2 separate regions of the Homo sapiens genome follow, and region 2 is linked to region 1. The links are contacts of gene promoters, found by promoter capture Hi-C in human tissues and cell types (Jung and others, 2019). All regions are on one chromosome and are shown on one strand. The core of a region is centred on a gene start or on the middle of the fragment in contact, and the rest is flanking DNA. Distances in the headings are between cores, read along the strand shown.

Region 1 (4,261 bases), core at 55-2,554:
ATTCCGCAGTAACAAAGGGTGAGGGGCTCCTTGTTGACAAATTGCTTCCCCGCCAGCGCCCGGTCTTTGGCCTCCAGCCCTGACCTCTGTTTTCCTGGGGTGCCCCTAGTTACAGGCTGGTGGCGTCCAGCTTGGGGAGCGAGGGCCTCCGAAAGCCTGGAAGTGTGGCTTTCTCCCTTGATGCCCGCCAACCTCCGGCCACGCCAAGGCAGGCGGCTGCCCCCTTTGCCGCCGCTTGTAAACGATCAGAATCGCCCCGCCCTGGGAGCGGGCCGGGCAGGTGGCCCGCAGCAGGGCCTGTCGTCCAGCCGGCCTCGCGGGGGTGGAATTCTTAAGAAAACTGAGCCCCCGGAAAGGCTGGCTCTCCCTGCCCCAGACTCAATTCCAGGGAGATGACCCGGGCCAGGCCTCGGGGCCGGCGGGAGGCAGGGGGAGGGTTTGCCGCACCCGGTCTAGGAAACTATTCGTGAACCCCGCTGGGGGAAGGCGAGCCTCCGACACTGGGGGATTGTCTGGATCGGAGGGCGGGGGATCAGGGAGAGGCGCAGACACAGGGCGAGACCCCCACAGAGGGCAGCGCAGAGACAGAGAGAGGGAGAGAAAAGCCAGAGGCAGAGACACAAACGCGGGCAGCCGAACACGGAGGCAGGCGGGGAACGGAAAGAGACGGGCAGACCAGGGGAAAGTGAGCGGCGGAAACGGAGCGACGGAGAGACAGACACACGGACGTGGGGACCGAAGCAGAGGGGGCCGCGGGAGGCGGAAACGTCCAGAGCCGAGAGGCGCGGCGCGGCGAGGCCCGGGCACGGCCGGGGGACATGCGAGCCCGGCCCGCCCGGCCACGCATCTCCCTCCCTCGCTCCCTCTCTCCCCCGGCCGCGGAAACTCCGATCCAGAAACGGAACCCTGGGGCGAGTCTGGGGACGGGCTCCGGACGCGGCGGTGCCCCCCGGCCACCCCGTGCCGCGCCCACGTCCCCAGCGCCGGCGTCCGGAGGCGCCCGCCAGGTCCCCCAGGGCTCCTGAGCTCGGCGGCGGCGCCTCCACCCGGTGCCCGCGGCCGCCGGACGCGCCGGGGGACGCAGCTCCGGGCTGGGGGCGCGGCACTGCCCCCGCGGCCGAAGCCTCTGGAAGCCGGGCGCCCGCGTGCCGACCCGGGCGGGACTTACCGCGCGCGCCCGCCGGTCCTGCGGAGCTGGGTGCGGGGGTCGCGGGCCCGGGCGCCCCAGGAGGCTCGGCGAGGCGGCCGGCAGGGCGGGGGGCGGCCCCGCGACGCTCGGCTGGGCTGCGCTGCGCGCTGTCTGCGGCCCCGGGCGGGCGCGCGGCGCGGGGGAGCGGCTCCGACGTCAGGGTGGCTCCCTCCAAACAGGGCGCGAGGGCGGGGGCAGCGGGGAGGGCCGCGCGCAGAAAGAGCGGGCGGGCGCGCGCGGCCTCTCCCTCCGGGTGCGCAGGAGGGGGCGCCGCGGCGGCAGGGGCCCCGGGCCCTCTCCTGGCCCGCCCGCCCCGGGCTGAGCTTCGGCGCGCTCCGACGGCGTGGTGGGGCGGCCGGGACGCCTGGCCGGCGCCCGAGAGGCAGGGCAGCCCAGCCGGGCGCCCTGGCCCGTTCTTAAGCGCCCTCCCCGGGTTTCTCTGCGCTTCCACTCTCTCCGCCCGACTTTTACCGAGCCTGGGCCGTCAGGCCGTGCCAGGCCTCGGGGTGACAAAGATGGATGTGTCCTTTTTGTGGGCACCGGGCATTGCAGACTTGCCCCGAGAGTGGGGCGCCCCAGCCCGCCGCGTCCCGGCACCAGGAGTCCCCAGTTCTGCGGTGCACCTCATCCCGTCCGCTCCGGCATGCGACCCGGTTCAAGTCCGTGCTGTTGGTAGCCTGGGTTGCTCAGCCTTGCCTAGTGTTATCCTAGTGTCGCTCTCGGCCCCACGCCCTTGGCTTAAGCATCCCGAAAAGCCCCAGGGACTTATTAGGAACTAAAAAGCCAGCAAATGAACTCACTTCTCTGACTCCTGGGAAGAGTGGAGCTCCTGGCCCCAGCTTCCAGCCTCACCTCGGGGGTTCCTATCTAATCAGTGGGCACTTGGGTGGATTGCGGCCGTACCTTCTCTATTCTGTGTGCTTAACAACGGGGTGAGAAAATAACTTTGCTTCTGGAAAGTGGTGGCCCAGGGACACCACTGGGACACGATTGTAGGACTTGGGGATTTTGCTTTACAGCATAGTTACCTGTGTCCATGTGTTTTACCTAGCTTGGCTGGAAACTTCCAGATAGACACAGCCCTGCTTGTCTGACTCATGAGGTTGCCGGGCATCCTGGGTGGCTCCTAGTGGCCTGCTGGGAACTCCCTGGTGTACTCCAGCCTACTCGCACCCTCCACACCCAGCCTGCATCTGCGCCTCCTAGCTGTTGCCTGCGCCCTTCCCTCTGCCCGGAATTCCCTTCCCCTCCTTTCATCTCTGGCAAACATTCTTCCAGCTCCAGATTGGAAAGCCTTCCCAAGACCCTTTGGGAGCATCTCCCTCCTCCAGTGTGATCCTGGAGCACAGGATGAGAACTTCTGTTCATGTCAATTTCCCTCTAGAATAACTGTGTACATCTCTTGGGCAAACATTCTTCCAGCTCCAGATTGGAAAGCCTTCCCAAGACCCTCTGGGAGCATCTCCCTCCTCCAGTGTGATCCTGGAGCACAGGATGAGAACTTCTGTTCATGTCAATTTCCCTCTAGAATAGCTGTGTACATCTCTTTCCTCCATTAGACCTTGAGGGCAGGAATCGTGTTTATTTCAGTGTCTCCATTGCTTATGGGCAGGCCAGGTGAGATGTACAATGTATTTGGTTGAATGAAGTTGTTGTTGTTGTTGTTGTTGTTGTTATTATTATTATTATTAGAGACAGAATTTTGCTCTTGTTGCCCTGGCTGAAATGCAATGGCGTGATCTCGGCTCACTGCAACCTCTGCCTCCCAGGTTCCAGCAATTCTCAGCCTCCCGAGTAGCTGGGATTACAGACGCCCACCACCACGCCCAGCTAGTTTTTGTATTTTTAGTAGAGATGGGGTTTTGCCATGTTGCCCAGGCTGGTCTCCAACTCCTGGCCTCAAGTGATCCTCCCGCCTCAGCCTCCCAAAGTGTTGGGATTATAGGCATGAACCACCACGCCCAGCGAATAAAGTAATTATTATCCCCCATTAATGTAGCACAGATAGGTCTTCCCTTAATGGTAACTATGACCGTTATAATAGTTCACACATATTGAGCACCTTACCATGTGCCTCATCCCATTGCAAGCTGTTGCCACTCTCACAATAAACCTATGAGGTAAGTATTGTCTCTGTTTTAAAAGTGCCAGGCGCAGTGGCTCATGCTTGTAATCCCAGCACTTTGGGAGGCCAAGGCAGGAGGATCACTTGAGGTCAGGAGTTCGAGACCAGCCTGGCCAATATGGCGAAACCCTCTCTCTACTAAAAATACAAAAATCAGCCAGGTGTGGTGGCGTGTGCCTGTAGTCCCAGCTACTCGGGAGGCTGAGGCAGGAGAATCACTTGAACCTGAGAGGCGGAGGTTGCAGTGAGCCGAGATCGCACCACTGCACTCCAGCCTGGGAGGCAGAGTGAGACTCCATCTCAAATAAATAAATAAATAAACAAACAAACAAATAAAATAATAAAAGTGAAAAAAATCCCGAGGCTGGAGGATCACTTGATCCCAGGAGTTTGAGGCTGCAGTGAGCTATGATTGTGCCACTGTACTCCAGCCTGGACAACATTGCAGAAGGCTAATTGTGGAACCTAATGAGCTTGTCACTCCAGCAAGGCCTTGTCTCAAAAAAAAAAAAAAAAAGTGAAAAAAGGAACGTCAAGAGAAAGGTTAAGTAACTCGCCTAAAGTCACACAGTAAGAGCCCATGCCAGCTAGTGTCTGTTGGATAACTATATACCATGTACGGCAGAAACCAGCCTCACTGCACTGTACACAGTAGACACTCAGGAAATATTTACCATTTTGCAGCCAAAGCTTACCCCCGCCATCTTTCATGCAGACCCCGAGCAGGGTAGAAAGTAGAGTTCTACATTTTGTAAGAATCCACTCCCACATTGCAGAAAGCTAATTGTGGAGCCTGATGAGCTGGTCAGATCACACATAGAGCCAGGAGTAGAAGCCACAACTTCCAGCCAGTGCCCTTGACAGGGCAGCCCACCATCTCTCAAACACCGGGAGGTTCAAGAACAACACCAACCCCCTAATCAGGGACAAAGGGTTTGGAGTTGAGT
Region 2 (4,261 bases), core at 458-2,957, 1.0 Mb after region 1:
TGTCTCCAGACATTGCCAAATGTCCTCTGTGAGTGAATACTGCCCCTGGTGGATAACTTATGATCTAATGAAATGAGGCAAATCTTGATGTGGGGTCTTTGGTTAAAGGACCAGGCAAGGTGACTACCAGGGCCTTCAGAGCCAGGGTCTCAAAGTCTGCAGACAAATTTTCAGGCTGTGCTGTGCCCAACCTATGATGACACCAGACCCAAGTCTGGTGATTTCTATCAGTGAAGCTCCTCTTCTCTGGGTGACGCTGTTGCTTCTCCCATCCTATGACCATCTCCTTTGGTTAAGGCCATTTCCAGGCTCTAGGCTAAGGGCCTTGTGTGCACAGCACAGGCTTTCTCTTGTCAAGTCCTCAGAGTTGGCTTTCTCTTGTCAAGTCCTCATCCTTGTAATCATTATGACGTCCATTTGACGGATGGGGAGACTGAGCTTTGGATAGGTCGAGCAGCTTGCCAAATGCCACACTCTACGTGGCAGAAGGGGATTTTGAACTGAGGTAACTTGGCCCCATACTTTTAACTACTAGAGCAATGCTTTTCAACTGGGCGATGATTTTGCCCCCCTCCCCGCCCCCCCGCCCCCCCCAGTGGACAATTGGAATACCTGGGAAAGTTGTCACAACTGCGGTTGGGGGTGCCCCTGGCATCTAGCTGGTAAGGCTAAGGCCGCCCCCCAACACGGAATTGTACCCTGCAACATCCCACCTCTCTTGAGAGTGGTCCAGAGCGAGGAGATTTGGGCCTGGCAAGATGCGGGATTCTGGAAGAGGAGGGAAGGTGGTGGACCATGGTGCCCCTGGGGTACTAACTGGGCTTGGCTGCCTTCTCCACAGCCTCTCCACCTCCTAGAAGAGAGGCCCAGGCCTGGATTTTCCCACACTGCTGCTGATGTCTGCATGGGCACGGAGAGTCCTGCTGCTGCCCAGGAACTCATCCTGAAGTTTTTAAGATTCTAGACACATTTCTTTCTTTATTTTTAGTTGATGAGGAAAAGTTGGAAGATAAATGTATAATCCTAGACCTGCAGAATTGTCAGAGGCCATTATGCTGAGCGTCACGAGGGGGGCTCTGGAGTCAGGCAGGACTCCAGGCACCAACTGCCACTACCTACCAAACGACAAGGCTGACTCTGCCTCCTCTGAGGCCACCACACTCGCTGCTCCTCCTGCTCCCTCACCTGCACTGTGAAGATAGTAATAGGACCCAGCTCACAGTGTTGTTGGAGGATTCAATGAGGTAATGCCTGTGGCAGCTCTTACCATTGTTGTTATTACCAGAATTAGGAATATCTCTAGAGCTGATCTCATCCAATCCCTTGGTTGACAGGTGAGGAAAAATGAGGCCCACAGAGGCGCGACAGGCAAACACCCAGCGGGGCAGGTGCTGGGACCCCTCTGCCAGCCCAGAGCTTGCTGCAGGACCCATTCCAGAAAGAGGAGGAATTCCCAGCTGAGGTAGGAGCTGATGTGGAAACCCCTTCTCCAGCCTTTCCCTCCCTGAACCAATTTGTAATTAATGGCTTGTGGCCACGTTTCTCCCCGCCTCCAGGGCAGACTTGTAAAACCTGTAGGAGAAGCTGCTGTGGGCAGGGTAGCTGGCTAGGCAGCCAGCTTCTCTGTTCCAGCCCCTTTGTCCCTTTGCTCCTGCAGGAGGGGGGATGGCGCCGCCTCCTCATCCCTGGCGCCCCACTCCGTCCCCTTCCTGCAGGCCAGCAATCCACGGTTGTCCAGGCTGTAATTTGTGGCTGGTGCTGAGGCTGTGCTGGGGTGCGGTGCCCCTCTGGGGATGGGGAGACACAGCAGGCAGGGCCTCTTCCTGCAGTGCTCCCAGCAGCCCTCTGAAGAGTTCAGGAGGTGCCAGGTGCAGGTGCACGGGGTGCACGATGACCAAGAGGAACAAGGATGATGGTGGTGCCAGGCCCAGCCAGGGTACAAAGCCTGAAAGCTTAGCCGCTTCCCCTACTCCTCCCCCGGCCCCGTGGGCGATGCCAAGGCAGCTGGAGTTCCGGGAGTTGGGGGCATCTCTGCCATAGCTGCTGACTTTGGCAAAAAAGAAATCCTCCTCCTTAATACCCTCTCCCTCCAGAATGACAGGGGGTTTGAAGTTGGCGGTGGAAAGGGAAGACAATCTTGTTACTAATGTACCATAAAGTACAATAAATATTCTGCTGACAGACTCCGAACCCAGGAAACAATTCTGAAATCCTCAAATGATAATAATAATATAAACAGAAGCCAAACCTTCCTGAAGCCTCTTTCTTCTTTGGTAAAATTTTATTACGATGGGAAGTGAAGTCACGCTCCCTCCTCCACCCCCACCCCTCCTGCTTCTTCCAACCTGGCACCTCTCTTTTGGGTCAAGGTCTTCCTCCTTGGCTGGGATTTTACAACTTTGAGGCCAGGGCACCTACAAGTGGGTTGGGACAGGGTGCCCTTGTCTGGAACCCTCCTGAAGGCATGCATGGGGCTTTCTCGAAGCTGGCCAAATACCTCCCAGTCCCCGTCTCTCTCTTTCTGCCCCCCATAAGCACACTTGCCTTCAAAATGGGTCTCCATTTTTTCATTAAATCCAGGAGTTGATAGGGAGGGATTGACCTGGCTACTTCAATTAATTTTTTTTTTACCTTTCAAATCATAAGGTTCCATTTCCTTTGGAGGAGGCGGTGTGTTGCAGGGTGCTGCAGAGTTTAAAACGTAGGGCTGTATTTGAATGTTTGGTCTTGATAGGCGATAGGGACCAGCATGGAAAATCATCTTTATCACCCCAATATGGAAGGTAAAGCGTGCGGCCTGGGCTGGCATACCAAGCGGCCTGTGAGCCCTTATCGTAATCCCAGGAGCCGCCCCCCTCTCCATCACCTCTGCTATTCCAGGCAAGTGTCAGACCGTCTTCCCTGCTGTACAGAGCCAGATAGCACCGAGCTGGGCCGGCGCAGCGGGCATAATAAGAAGTGGAAATTGCTCCCAAGGAAAGTTTCTGAGGAATTAACTTCTGATGGGTGAAGGGGGCAGTGTGGGGGTGGGCAGGTGGGGAGGGGTAAGGGAGCCGAAGGAGGAAGGTGAGGACCTGGGCCAAGACAAGGACGCCAGCAGTCTCCGAGGAAGGAGGCAGAGACCTTAGAGAGACTTTCAGAAAGGCTGTATTGCTCCCATTGGGAAAGGCAGGTGGGCCCACAACTGCTGTGGCCGGCAGAGAGAGCTCTGGGACCCAGGAGGGCCCTAGAGACCCCCAGCTCCCTGAGGGGATGAAGGATCTGAATGCTTCCTTTGGGGGTCAGTTGTGCCAGATGGGCTGGACTGCACGTCAGGCCCAAGACATTGAGGGACTGTGGGTGCAACAGAGCCGTGGCCAATGCCTTTGCTGATTCTTTCTCTGAGCGGCCTCCATACCCGTCCCGGCCTCAATCCCTTGCCTTGCTCAGGCTGCTTAAGTGGAAGGTTCTTATTCTTACCCCATGAGGAAGACTCCTCAGCCCCGTAGCCTACAAAACATTTCCTTCCAAGCATTATTTATAAACGTCTGTTGAGCACCTACTCTGTGCCCGGTCCTGCCCCAGGCACTAGAAACCCGGCAGTGAAGGGGAAAGGTGAGGCCTGGGCAGACACTCCCCTGTGCACAGATGCAAGAAAAGAGATGGAGGGAGCATGATACGCTCTAAGGAAAATGAAATCAGGCCGGGCATGGTGGCTCAGGCGGGGAATGGTGGCTCAGGTGGGGAATGGTGGCTCGGTGGGGAGTGGTGGCTCAGGCGGGGAATGGTGGCTCAGGCCGGGCGTGGTGGCTCAGGCGGGGAATGGTGGCTCAGGCGGGGAATGGTGGCGCAGGCGGGGAATGGTGGCTCAGGCCGGGCGTGGTGGCTCAGGCGGGGAATGGTGGCTCAGGCGGGGAATGGTGGCGCAGGCGGGGAATGGTGGCTCAGGCCAGGAGTGGTGGCTCAGGCCGGGCGTGGTGGCTCAGACGGGGAATGGTGGCTCAGGTGGGGAATGGTGGCGCAGGCGGGGAATGGTGGCTCAGGCTGGGCGTGGTGGCTCAGGCGGGGAATGGTGGCTCACGCCTGCAATCCCAGTACTTCGGGAGGCCAGGGCGGGAAGGTCATTTGACTAGCCTGGGCAACATAGCAAAACTCCATTTCTACTTAAAAAAATAAAATAAATTAGCTAGGCATGGTGGCATGCACCTGTAGTCCCAGCTACTCAGGAGGCTGAGGTGGGAGGATCCCTTGAGACCAGGAGGTCGAGGCTGCAGTGAGCTGT

What was found. The method cuts DNA at HindIII sites, captures the fragments that hold promoters and counts their contacts. A contact is called where the count stands out against the background at its distance.
Region 2: a fragment that was not itself captured here is called in contact with the fragment with the promoter of NBL1 in region 1 in 1 of the 25 tissues and cell types used here (pancreas).

What each region holds. Positions count from the first base shown.
Region 1 is chr1:19,641,354-19,645,614 of GRCh38, reverse strand. It overlaps NBL1 (NBL1, DAN family BMP antagonist), which reads right to left and starts at 1,304. Exons shown (of 4, transcript NM_005380.8): 1 at 1,169-1,304. The region is part of intron 1 of MICOS10-NBL1 (MICOS10-NBL1 readthrough); the gene reads right to left. RefSeq lists a silencer at 1,219-1,558 and an enhancer at 1,457-2,292. The HindIII fragment of the contact is 7,978 bases long and covers 325-4,261 here.
Region 2 is chr1:18,604,519-18,608,779 of GRCh38, reverse strand. No RefSeq gene overlaps it. Among named protein-coding and RNA genes, the nearest start is that of PAX7, 24 kb to the left of the region's middle. The HindIII fragment of the contact is 8,128 bases long and covers 1-4,261 here.